Linked DNA regions of Homo sapiens: regions 2, 3, 4 and 5 are each linked to region 1. Evidence: promoter capture Hi-C in 16 types of primary human blood cells and fetal thymus (Javierre and others, 2016). All regions are on one chromosome and are shown on one strand. Each heading gives the region's core, a stretch centred on a gene start or on the middle of the fragment in contact. The rest is flanking DNA. Distances are from core to core; before and after follow the strand shown. Region 1 holds the start of RARS1 (arginyl-tRNA synthetase 1). Region 2 overlaps BOD1 (biorientation of chromosomes in cell division 1). Region 3 overlaps LOC105377700 (a long non-coding RNA gene). Region 4 has its middle 15 kb from the start of CCNG1. Region 5 overlaps CCNG1 (cyclin G1).

The links. The method cuts DNA at HindIII sites, captures the fragments that hold promoters and counts their contacts. A CHiCAGO score of 5 or more calls a contact.
Region 2: a contact is called between a fragment that was not itself captured here and the fragment with the promoter of RARS1 in region 1, in 1 of 17 cell types (naive CD8 T cells). The highest score is 8.2, in naive CD8 T cells.
Region 3: a contact is called between a fragment that was not itself captured here and the fragment with the promoter of RARS1 in region 1, in 2 of 17 cell types (total B cells and naive B cells). The highest score is 8.0, in total B cells.
Region 4: a fragment that was not itself captured here is called in contact with the fragment with the promoter of RARS1 in region 1 in 2 of 17 cell types (naive CD8 T cells and activated CD4 T cells); the score reaches 7.0 in naive CD8 T cells.
Region 5: a contact is called between a fragment that was not itself captured here and the fragment with the promoter of RARS1 in region 1, in 11 of 17 cell types (total B cells, non-activated CD4 T cells, naive B cells and 8 more). The highest score is 24.1, in total B cells.

The regions. Positions count from the first base shown.
Region 1 is chr5:168,485,201-168,487,741 of GRCh38, forward strand. RARS1 (arginyl-tRNA synthetase 1) reads left to right here and starts at 1,271. Exons shown (of 15, transcript NM_002887.4): 1 at 1,271-1,343. The coding sequence starts at 1,299. The HindIII fragment of the contact is 3,317 bases long and covers 1-2,541 here.
Region 2 is chr5:173,610,639-173,613,179 of GRCh38, forward strand. BOD1 (biorientation of chromosomes in cell division 1) reads right to left here. Exons shown (of 4, transcript NM_138369.3): 2 at 2,493-2,541. Among named protein-coding and RNA genes, the nearest start is that of BOD1, 4.7 kb to the right of the region's middle. The HindIII fragment of the contact is 2,384 bases long and covers 86-2,469 here.
Region 3 is chr5:163,404,319-163,406,859 of GRCh38, forward strand. All of the region lies in intron 1 of LOC105377700 (a long non-coding RNA gene), which reads right to left. Among named protein-coding and RNA genes, the nearest start is that of CCNG1, 32 kb to the right of the region's middle. The HindIII fragment of the contact is 1,104 bases long and covers 723-1,826 here.
Region 4 is chr5:163,421,223-163,423,763 of GRCh38, forward strand. It overlaps a transcript of LOC105377700 not described here. Among named protein-coding and RNA genes, the nearest start is that of CCNG1, 15 kb to the right of the region's middle. The HindIII fragment of the contact is 1,939 bases long and covers 306-2,244 here.
Region 5 is chr5:163,439,869-163,442,409 of GRCh38, forward strand. It overlaps CCNG1 (cyclin G1), which reads left to right. Exons shown (of 7, transcript NM_004060.4): 3 at 1,210-1,463; 4 at 2,018-2,096; 5 at 2,177-2,275; 6 at 2,506-2,541. Among named protein-coding and RNA genes, the nearest start is that of CCNG1, 3.5 kb to the left of the region's middle. The HindIII fragment of the contact is 1,297 bases long and covers 623-1,919 here.

The DNA of each region.
Region 1 (2,541 bases), core at 21-2,520:
CAACATAGATGAACCTGGAGAACATTATGTTGGTGCAATAAGCCGGGCACAGAAAGACAAATACTACATTAGCCCATGTATATGTGTAATCTAAAAAATTCAGATTCATAGAAGCAGAGCATAGAATGGTGGTTGTCAGGGCTTCAGAGGTAGGAAAGATGGGAGATGTTGCTCAAAGTTACAAAGTTTCAGTTAGGCGGGATGAATAGATTCTAGAGATGTAATGTATATTGTATACTTGCAGTTTTCGTTTTCGTTTCGTTTTGTTTGTTTTTAAATAGAGAGAGAAAAGGTCTCACTCTGTCATCCAGGCAGAGTACAGTGGCATGATCATGGCTCACCGCAGCCTCAAATTCTTGGGCTCAAGTGATCCTCCCACCTCAGCCTCCTATATACCAGGGACTACAGGCACATGCCACCATGCCCGGCTATTTTTCCATTTTTTTGTAGAGACGAGGTCTTAGCTGTTTCCCAGGATGAGAATAGATCTTAAATGTTCACAGCACACACGCGCGCGCGCGCGCGCGCACACACACACACACACACACATGCAAATGATAACTGTATGAGATGAAGGTTATGTTAATTATTTTGGTTGTGGTAATCATTTCAGAATGTATACATATATCAAAACATTACGTTGTACATCGTTATGATATACAATCTTTGTCAATTATACCTCAATAAAACTGGAAAAATAAATAAGATTTTAACTCAAATGTCACTTGCTTAGAGATGTCTTCTCTCACCCAAGTCACTCTATCACATTGCCTTCCTAGCAATTAAAACTACCTGAGATTATTGCCTTTTTTGGTCTATTTTCTCTCTCCATTCTAAAATGTGTCTGCCGTGAGAGGGGAGATCGTGTCTGTTTTGTTTTCTTTGTGCCCCCAGAGCCTAGAATACTGTCTGGCATTTTAAAGTACACAATAAATGTTTGTTGAATAAATGAATGGATTTGTTAGTTTTGTGCCCATTTCACAAAGGGGCAAAGTGAGGCCTTTGAGAGCCAGAAGCTCTAGGTCAGTGACTGTCCTAGTCTATCCAAGCACAGAGCAGCTCTGGTTAGTGTCTGCTCAATTCCTCTCCCCTCGCCCAAACGTCCCTGAGTTGCGGCCTCGCTCCTGACCGAAATCCCCGCGGGTTCTCCTCGCAGTGTCTACTGGATCCCGCCAGGAGGCAGCAGAGGCGCCAGCACCCAGTCCGACGGGACAGCGGACCGGAGGGGGTTTCCGCTTCCGGGAGAGGCTGACCGTTTCCGCTTCCGTCCACTTGGCGAGTGAGACGCTGATGGGAGGATGGACGTACTGGTGTCTGAGTGCTCCGCGCGGCTGCTGCAGCAGGTTTGGACGCAGGAGACCGGCGGGAAGGCCTGAAAGAGATGGAGCAGGCTCTGACTCCTGCCCAAGCGGCTTCGGGGGCGGGACAGCTAGGCGAGGACCATCCTGGTCCTCTCAGAGTGGAGCGGCACGGTCCCTGTGGGAACAGGAAGGGTTGAGAGAGGAAGCACCCATCATTTCAAAGCCCGTGTGACTGTGATTTTCAGCGGAATGGAGGGTCCCCACCCTCTCCCAGGCCTCCCCCAAACCAGCGTCTTCGGTGGGCTGGAGCCTGGCATGTTCAGAACAGTTCTCTCCCTACAATCCACCTCCTCTTCTGCATACACACGCGATTTAGGGGATGCGGGGAGATAGACAAGGGGGGAATACATTCAGAGCTCTGGGTCTTGGTTTGCAGCTCAGCCGCAGTTCTTCCCGGGTTACTGAGCGAGAGGATTCCTAATAAGCCCATGGGGTGATTCATTATCAGACCAGCGGAGCTTGCTCTGTGCCCTCAGCATTCGTCGGGAAGGAGCAGCCACACCATATAAAAGTGAAAGCGGCCGGGCGCGGTGGCTCATGCCTGTAATCCCAGCACTTTGGGAGGCCGAGGTGGGCGGATCACGATGTCAGGAGATCGAGACCATCCTGGCTAACACAGTGAAACTCCGTCTCTACTGAAAATACAAAAAAACTTAACCGGCTGTGTTGGGGGGGGTCCCTGTATTCCTAGCTACTCGGGAGGCTGAGGCAGGAGAATGGCGTGAACCCGGGAGGCGGAGCTTGCAGTGAGCAGAGAGCACACCACTGCACCACAGCCTGGGCGACAGAGTGAGACTCCGTCCCCCTACAAAAAAAAAAAGTGAAAGCGGAACAGTTCCATTACCTTTTATGCCCAGGTGGGGAGGGATGGTAGGAAGATAGTTCACAGTACTCTGTCCTGTTACGGCTGTATACTTAATCAGCAGTCACAAAGTACAAGTTAGTCAAGTAAATTGGCAAGCTCTTTACATTTCTGAGCCATTTATTTATCGGTATGTATTTATCTTTGCCTCACTTGGTTGTGATAATCATGAAGGTAATTTCTGAAAAGTGTTTTTAGCTCAGCTCCTGGAACATAATGTATGCTCATTTTTGGCAATTTGGTTTTGGCTGTAGCTATCTCCCAGTAAGTATTCTGAAATTTCAGGTGAGGAACTCCCCCTGAGTTTTGCAGTTTAAG
Region 2 (2,541 bases), core at 28-2,527, 5.1 Mb after region 1:
TCTCCTCAGTCACAAGCCAATACCTTTCCAACTTTACCAAACCACTTCCTGAGTCGGATTCACAGGGTCCTTTACCAGATGTAAAAGCTTGATATTATCAACTAAATGCCTGTGTCCCCCAGACTTCCTATGTTGAAATCTAATCCTTAATGTGATGGCCTTTGGAGGTAGGGCCTTTGGGAGGCGATCGGGTCATGGGGGCAGAGCCTCCGCGAATGCAATTTATGCCCTTACAAAAGGGACCCCAGGAAGTTAGCGAGCTCTCTTTCCACCACATGAGAAGAACAAGCAGTTGGCAGTCTGCTGCCTGCAAGAAGGCCTTCCCCTGAACCTGACCATGCTGGCATCTTGGTCTTGGACTTCTAGCCTCCAGAATGGTGAGAAGTAAATTTCCATTGTTTACAAGCCACCTAGTCTACGGCGCCTTGTTAAAGCATCCCCAACTGACCAAAACCCCTGATCAGGGGAAACAAACTACCAAGGGAGTGCAGCTCACTTTCCTGGAGATTCTTAAACTTTTGAGGAAAACATAAAATCTTGTCAGGAGCCCAATGTACAAGATGGAAAAAACAAATATTGTACAGTTACAAGAGTTATTCGTCATAATTCAGTGCAATAGCACAGGCTAATTTCCTGTTAAACCCTCTAGGCTGTGGCACTGGGTTACAGCATCTGGGCCAGAACAGCCAGGCCAGTGAGCCAATGCTCTGAAGGCCTGCAGTGTCCACCTGGGGAGAGCACCTGGGGGCAAGCAGAAAGTCTGCGTTTCGAAACTCCAGTAGATTTTGCCTCAAATTCAAAATGCTAGCAAGAATTGTGGAGAAATGTCCCAGTATTAAAGCCAAGTTCATGTTTTCAGGTTAAACACATTCTAAGTCAAATCAAAAAGCAGGGAAAAAAAAAAAAACAACAACTTCACAGAGGTGGTAAAAACTATGCAGAGAGGAAATGATTAGTATAAAAGTCAGGAATATGGAAAACTTCCGAAAGGAGGAAAGTACATCCGGAGCTAGGCTGTTTCGGGGGTGTGAGTCCATTTCTCGATCTGGGTGATCAAGGGATGTTCTAATTATCTGTTTCACTGAACTTCTGTGCACTTTTCCGTATTACAATTCCTACTAAAGAAATGCAAGAGGAAGCGCCACATGCATACCTCTAGAATGACATCCATGCTCATTACAGAAATCAAAGCAATGTTAACAGCCTTCATACAATCATGGCAACTTTCCAAATATTTCAGAATGTTCAGTGTTTTGATTTACTCAAGACAGGGTAAACACAAGTGACTTTAGCTGTGAAACAGGCTTTTCATGAGGATGAGTGATATATGTAAAGACCAGTGCCAGACATGTAATAAAGAGTTGCTCAGTAAGGGGCAGCTACTGTCCCCTTCTTTCTGAAAGAGCCCGGTGCCACCAGTCTGTTCTCTGGAGAAAGGGAAAGGCACTCGGTACTGACTCCAGAATGACAAGGCACTGGGCATCTTCTGCTATCAGGCTTCTTCCCAGCATTCAGCCATATTGGAAGTACTAGCTTGTTAGTAAAACACTTTTAAAAACTTTAGAAATCTTAAAATCGCTGCATATTCACAGGAAGTTGTGAAGAAGAGTCCAGGGAGTTCCACACGCACCCTTCACCCAGCCAGCTCTAATGTCAGCACCTTGCGTAACTAGTGCAATATCAAAACCAGGAAAATGACACTGGTCCAATCCAGACCTTATTTAGACTTCAGTTACACTTGCACTTATTTGTGTGTGTAGCTCCGTGCGACTTTACCATACGAGCTGTTGCACGTGAGCACAGCACAATTCAGTGACACTTAACTGCACCATTGCAAGCTCCCCCTTGTGCTACCACTTGCAAGTCACACTCACCCCCTCCTCCCATCCGTAACCCCAGGCAATCACTAATGTGTTCTCCCATTTCTGTACCCTCCTCCACCTCCACTTTTGTGCGTCACTCAGATAAGCTATCAATAGCACCTTTATTAACTAAGGTTCAGTTTGTTACTGTGAAGTACGATACTTTATTAAGACTATGCCTTCCTGAAAGCTGTCACCATTACACTTTAGAGGTGGCAGTCCTGGTGGACTCAAAGAATTTATTTAGTTCACATTCACCTGTGAGAATAAAGATCCAACTCCTCTTGCCCAAGATCCAAACCCTGATATCTTGGTATAAAACTCACATATATGTTTGGACAACACTGAAACTTCAAAGAGCAGGGAAAATGTCTCACGATTTGGAATGCCTTTTGATGCACCCAGTAGAGATGCACACAGGAGGCCTTCACAGGCTGCAGAAACTGGAATTTCAACTGAGTACTTTGCTTCCTTTAACCTTAATTATAACAAAAGAGCAGACTGCTGCAACTCCTAAGTGATACTTGATATAAAGTCCCATCAACCTTGACTAAACAGAGACCTCAACCTTCTTGTGCATCACACTTGTGATGACTGCCTTTTCAAAAGCTTTAAATTCTGCTTACTTACTGAACCACACTCTGCCTCAGACCATTTCGCAACTGGTTTTTGTTCATCG
Region 3 (2,541 bases), core at 25-2,524, 5.1 Mb before region 1:
GAGAGGATCAAAAAATATAACTCCAATGTTCTGTGTTCTTTGGCTTTAAATTTTTCCAATGAAGTAATAATCTATTCTGATATCTATTTGAATAACTCCACTGGACTTGAGTGATTTGTCAGAGAAATCGATAGCCATAGAACTGCGAATATCCTTTTCCACTTGTGAAAATCTGCATTGTCTTTTTGAAGCTTCCTTCTGTGTGATCTTTATTAAACATAAGCAAGGGAAGCACAAAATTCACTAGAATTCAATGAAGCTTTTCATTTACTTTCTTATATGTTATCCCTCTCTCTCCCTCCCTCTCTCTCCCCCCTCCCTCCTTACACACACATGCGTGCGCACACACACACACACACACACAAAACGAAATGACCTTTACTTACTTCACCGTTGCGTGCACACCTCAGCTACTTATGGGCTTTTATGTCTCTAACGTTATTTATTTCTGTATGCTTTCATCAAAGATTTATTGAGTACTGCTATGTCCCAGGCACTATGAACAACATCAAGTACAGAAGATGAATGATCTATAACTGCCATTGAATTTTGAAGGATCTTTAGTTTAAAAGAGTCATTTTAGAAAAAAAAAGAGCTAACATTTTTCCAAGCATTTATATGCCAAGCCAAGTGATCTTCATTTATTCTCTGCCTTAGTCAGCACAAGAGCCTCAGGAGGTAGGTACAATTATTTTCTTTCATTTGTCAATTGAGATAACTAAAGCTTACATAAGCCAAGTAATTTACAGAGGATCACAGAGTTAGTGACAGAACTATTGCGGCCGTTACTATAATAGTAGAAGCTCACTTATATTAAGCACCTACTATGTACCATGAATTGTTGTAAGCACCTGATATAGTTTAGCTTACTACTCTTATTACCCACCATTTACTGATGAAACAGTAGTACAGAGATGTTAAATAAGTTCTCCAAAGTTACCAGTAGAACTGGGATACCAGTTGTCCTTTTTTTAATTTATTTATTTTTCTTTTTTCTTTTTTTTTTTTTTTGACGGAGTCTCCCTCTGTCGCCCAGGCTGGAGTGTAGTGCAGTGGCGCAATCTCGGCTCACTGCAATCTCTGCCTCCCGGGTTCAAAGGATTCTCCTGCCTCAGCCTCCTGAGTAGCTGGGATTACAGGCACATGCCACCATGCCCACCTAATTATTTTTGGATTTTTAGTAGAGACAGGGTTTCACTGTTAGCCAGGATGGTCTTGATCTCCTGACCTCATGATCCACCCGCGTCGGCCTCCCAAAGTGCTGGAATTACAGGCTTGAGCCACCACACCAGGCCCCAATTGTTCTTAATAACTCACAGACTCAAGTCTGGCTGTGCCAAAACTCATGCTTGTAATCACTATGAAACTGAAAGATAACGTATGGTCTCCATGATTAGGACAATATTCCAATCTGCCTGGTCAAGGGATACTAATGAAAGAGAAGATCTTGAAGAACATGGTTTATTCAACACATCAAACATAAGACTTTGTGATCTCAATCTACAAATTGTTTTCTGAAGTTACAAAATTCAGCAGAGACATGGGGGCCATGAAAGTCCAATTCCATGGCTCTAGTTTGCCACATTTTCCTTATCTACAACAAAGGAGTAAGTGACTAAGAGTCATCTATTATCTAATAATACTTTCCAGCTAAGAGTCATCTATTGTATAATAATACTTTCCAGCTTTGAGCAGGGTGTTCCACAAGTATCAGGAAAGCAGAAATCAGGTACATTCTAACTTAATGTTTTGTTTCAAAACCCGATCATAGTGACGGGTGCACAGTAGCCAGTCAATAAATTGTTATTAGATAAATGTTGGAAAAAAGCTTTCTGAACAAGCACTTTGTAGTATTTGCAGGGCTGGGCCTAGGGCGAAGCAAATGAGGCTCCTGTCTTGGCACAGAATTTAAGGGGCATCAAAAAATTCCCTTGGCTTCGGGCTCCAGTATGGTTCAGCACAACGTTATTACTGATCCTGTTCTTACGAAAATTGTAGATGTTTCACTTATCATAAATTATTTTGCACCAGTGTTGCCCCAGCCCTGATTACACACACTCTTCCTGATAACTTCCTGCCACTTACTACCTGTTTTATCACATGTAAGTTACTGAAAGTGTTCTGAGACTGAGTTTCCTTATCGGTAAAATGGGAATAAGAATTTTTAATTTATCATACTGTTGTAAGGAGCGAATCAGGTGGCATGTGTGCAATCTCTGACTCAGTGCACAGCATAAAATTGGAGCTCAATAAACATTACTTCCCTTGCCTGACAAGAGAAGTGTCTGTTAAATCGTTTCTTCACGTGGTTAATTATTTTGCTTAGTTTTTCTTCCCCAAGAAGATCAACCAATCCTTACAGGATCTCTCATTCAAACTGGTTATTTCTCCCAACAAGTTGCCTCTCGGGCAGATTGTCTGAGCTCAGGGGTTCGAGACCAGCCTGGGCAATGTGGCAAAACCCTGTCTCTACTAAAAATACAAAAAATTAGCCAGGCGTGGTGGCACACTCCTGTAATCCCAGCTACTCAGGAGGCTGAG
Region 4 (2,541 bases), core at 25-2,524, 5.1 Mb before region 1:
TGAGAGGTATGCTTTATTGTCTAAAATTCTGACTTTGACATTAATTCCTTTAGATCCCAATGTTGCCTAATTAAAATTTGTATACTACCATTGAGAAATGTGGCAGATTGTATTTTCCAAAAATAGCCACAGCAATATTTCTGCTTTCACACACTCTATCAGATCGTTACCACTCCCCATCAAGATTTGGAGCCTCTTTTCATTTTCCTTGAATTGAGGTAGGCTGTTTGGACTGCCTTGGCCAACAAGAAAACAACAGAACAGATGCTGCATGACTTTTGTGACTAGTTCATAAAAGACAATAAAGCTTCTGCCTGGCATGCTCTCTCCCTCTCTCTGTCTCTCTCTTTCTCTCTTTCTCTCTCTATCTCTGTGCTCATCCTTGGAACCCAGACGCCATGTAAGGAAGCCAAGTAGCCACATTGAAAGGCCACATGTAAGTATTCTGGCCATACCAAAGTTGAAGTTCCAGCTCACAGCCAGCATTGAAGCCACACATGTAGGCAAGTGAAGTCTTCAGAAGATTCTGGTACCCAGCCTCCAAGCCACTTGAGCTGCCTCTAGCCAAGTGTAGCAGAAATGAGCTGTCTACATGTCTTCCCAAGTTACAGAATTGATGGTAAAGCAAATGACATCATATCTTTAGTTCACTTCGTTTTGGGGCTTTTTTTTTTTCAATTTTTGGTGTTTTGTTTTGTTTTTATGTAGCCATTGATAACCAAAATAGGACTAACACATTATATTGGTACAAGTTAGTTTTTTAGATTAGCTATTTTGTAGCAGATATAAGAACCATGGGGATGATAGCATGGTACAGATAAGATTTAATGAAGAGATTTTTCTACTTATGGTGAGATTTTTCTACTTATGGTGAGTCGACCTGGCAGGGATGGGAAACGGGGGAGAGAAGAGAGATGGCAGGATGGCAAGAGGAGAATATAAGTAAGAATTTCCAAAAACAAATTCTTTGGATGGGGAGTATAGATTAGTATTCCATATTTTAGAGCAATAAGACTTTTTAAAAATAAACATGCAATGCCTAGTTATACTTACCATTATCAGTAATTTTCAAGACGAATTTTTCATTCCATGTTTTATGAAGTAGCCAAGACTCCAAACTATCTACAGCAGAGTTTTCCATACCACTTCCACATATAACAAGCATTTTAGAGGAAAACAACCTTCTACAACCCCTTTCCTCTACACCAGGAAAGCTCAAGTTATCCACAGACTTCAATGTATATGACTTATTGTTCTCAGGAAACTGTTATGACTTCTTTCTATGTAATACACACACACACACACACACACACCTCGGTATATAACTATATATATAAAAAGAATCCCATACACACATATTTTTAACCTCAGTGATGATAGAATACAATAGTGTTGCAAAATAATAAACAAATGGATATAGCAAATGATTTACCTTACTAATTGCTATTTAGTTTAATACTGTCATTATGGCATAATTTCCCTGGAGACAAATCAATTATAAAATGCAGGGGTTTCAAAATCCATCCAAAAAAAATCATAACAAGAAAAAAAAACTGCATGAAAAGTTACTATAGAGAAACTTAAAATGATCTAAAAAATACATGAAGCAAAAACTCATGGAATTGAAAGGTAAAATAGACAATTCCACAATAAAAGCTGGATACTTTATACTCTGCTTTTAATGATGAATAAAACAATTATGCAGAAGATTTAACAGGAAACCGAAGACTTGAACAACACCATAAGTGAATTAGACCTAACATACATCTAGAATACTCCACCCAACAACAGCAAAATACACATTCTTATTATTATTATTATTATTATTATTATTATTATTATTATTAATAGAGATGTGGTCTTGCTGTGCTGCTCAGCTGGTCTCGAACTCTTGTCCTCAAGTGATTCTCTGCCACAGCCTCTCAAAATGCTGGGATTATAAGTGTGACCCACTGTACCCAGCCAGTACACATTCTTCTAAGGCACAAATAGAACATTTTTCAGAATAAACCATAGACTAGGTCATAAGCCAGGTCTCAATAAATGTAAAGGAATTAAAATCATACAAAATATATTCTCCAACTACAAAGAAATAAAATTAGAAAATAACAATGAGAGAAAGTTTGAGACATCTACAAAATAATTGAAAATTAAACAAGAGACTCTCAAACAACCAATGGGACAGAGAAAAAATTTAAATTTGAAAATCCCATGTGATGAATGAAAATAAAAACAACATACCAAAGCTTATAGATGCAACTAAAGAAGTGCTCAGAGGGAAATTTATAGCTTTAAATGCTTTTTTTAAAAAAAATCTCCACTCAACAATGTCATCTTCCACTAAAATCAAAGCAAAACCAAGGATGGAAATAATAAGGTTAAAATGAAAATAAATAAAGTAGAGAAGAGAAAAACACTGAGCAGATTTTTAAAAACACAAAAATTGTTTGCAAAGATGAACTAAAATGACAAACCTTGGCTAGGAATGGTGGCTCACACCTGTAATCCCAGCACGTTGGGAAGCCAAGGCAGTAGGATCAC
Region 5 (2,541 bases), core at 21-2,520, 5.0 Mb before region 1:
GGCTACATTGTGGCTAAGAATTAAGATATATTTGTTAATCACTACCCATATATAAAATTGTAAATGTTTTAGCCTTAGACCTAGTCAAGACTTGCTTATGCTTGGCATTTCCAGCTTCAGTGTACATGCAGTAGGGAGGAGAGTGTGTCTGAAGGAGGAGCAACTATTTTCCTATACTAGATAAACAAGACTGTCACTTTCAGAGCTTAACTGTTACAAATGCATCTGCCTTTCCTGTACACCCATGGTCACTGGAGGAAAATAAGATGATGTGACAATTGGAAGGAAACTCATATTTTAGTCCTCGGTATCTAACACAGTGCATCATAAAAAAGGACTTCAATATTTGTTGAAGATTCAAGAAATTTGCTTCAACAGACTAATTAAGCTCTTTAGACATTTCACATGTAGTCATTACCTTTGAATCTGTAAATGTTGCACAAATGAATAATATACAGCTATTCCTCAGGTATAATTCAGTCTTATGTGAGAATAAGATCGTTGCTCTTATGTACAAGTCATAATAAGAAAAATAACTACATTATGCCTTTAAAGAGGCATAAGTGTACTGCTGAAGAGTTTACAAGAAGAGAGAGAGCACAGAGATATTAATACTGGTAAAAGCTTAGTTTCATGTGAGCTGGAAGTAAACTGGATAAAGTTTTGACTGTGTCTCATACGGCAGACATTCAGAAAATTAAATGATAAAGATTAGTAGTGGATAGAACTCTTAGAGGCAGAGTAAACAGTATATGCCATAGTATTTTAAAACTGTTTTATATGTGTTCCCACAAAGACAAGAGCCTGGAAAAAATACAACATCCTGCAAAGAAATGGCTTATTTTGTAAATAAGCCATAAAGTATTTCAGTCCTCATATATCTTTGACTAGTTAACTTATTTGATCAAACTAGAACAATGTTTACTTATAGTTCTACAGTGATTAATAAAAACACACTTTTTCTATGCTGAGCCAAACATTATACTGAAACTCAGTCCAGTTACTCAAAAATTGGTTCTAAGTGGGGTCCATAGTGTTGACAGGCTATAGTTTAGGTATGAGTGGATTGTGTTAAGTCCATCACAGCTGAGAAATAAACCTCAAATATACATTTTCAAAATGTTGGGTCGGAGTTCTAGATTATCCTTTATGTTTTAATTGAAATAAGGTAGAGTCATGGGCTTACTGGTTTTGTTTTTGATTTTTTAGGTACAGCCCAAGCACCTTGGGTGTGTTGGACTGAGCTGCTTTTATTTGGCTGTAAAATCAATAGAAGAGGAAAGGAATGTCCCATTGGCAACTGACTTGATCCGAATAAGTCAATATAGGTTTACGGTTTCAGACTTGATGAGAATGGAAAAGATTGTATTGGAGAAGGTGTGTTGGAAAGTCAAAGCTACTACTGCCTTTCAATTTCTGCAACTGTATTATTCACTCCTTCAAGAGAACTTGCCACTTGAAAGGTAAGTGACCTTTGTTTTGAACAAGAGACATTTGGAAATCAGAATGGTATTGTATGGATATTGCATAAAATCAGTATCCTCATAGAATTCTAATAAAAATAAGTAAAATGACAGCTGTGGCTCCTTGAACTTTAATGTCCATCATAAGTGAGAAAATGTTCCATTGTCAATAGCTTCGTTAAAGCTAATTCTTGGGATTAAAGTACATTTTGACTTTATAGAACCTAGTAGGAAAGCATCTAACACAAATTTATGGAAAAAAAGGACCTTCAGTGGATGTTGAAATATTTATTAAAACTAAAAGAAAATAAATCTTGTATTTGTGGCATAGTACTATTCATTTTAATTTTTTGGCCCAAATCATCTAAAACTCCCATATGGTGCCTTTAGAAGTTAGTATCTCTGATGGAAGGGGAATTCCTTTCAATAGTTCATTTGCTATGTTAAGTGTGCATAAGCTTTACTTTAAAAATTGACTTCAATGTTTTTCTAAAAACATCTTTTGACTAGATGTAGTATTACCTAATAAAAGTAATACCATTTTCTTTTTAAAGGAGAAATAGCATTAATTTTGAAAGACTAGAAGCTCAACTGAAGGCATGTCATTGCAGGATCATATTTTCTAAAGCAAAGGTAAATATTTTATAAAGATTATGCCTATTGATATGATCTGTTTTTATATTTGGCATTTACTTTAAATTTATCTCTTTTAGCCTTCTGTGTTGGCATTGTCTATCATTGCATTAGAGATCCAAGCACAGAAGTGTGTAGAGTTAACAGAAGGAATAGAATGTCTTCAGAAACATTCCAAGGTATGTGAAGGACATAGCCTAAATCCTATTAACAGCTGTAAAAGAAACTAAACCCCTTCTATCTCCTGAAGTAAAATGAGATGTCATATGTTTATTTGAAACTTAAGTAGCTATCCTCAAATGTTTTTAATGAGCAAAGACACATGTTCATAGGATTGCATTTATTAATGTAGTTAAATAAGGTGGGACTTACTTGGAGTAATAATTTTTTAAAATTTATGTATGTACAGATAAATGGCAGAGATCTGACCTTCTGGCAAGAGCTT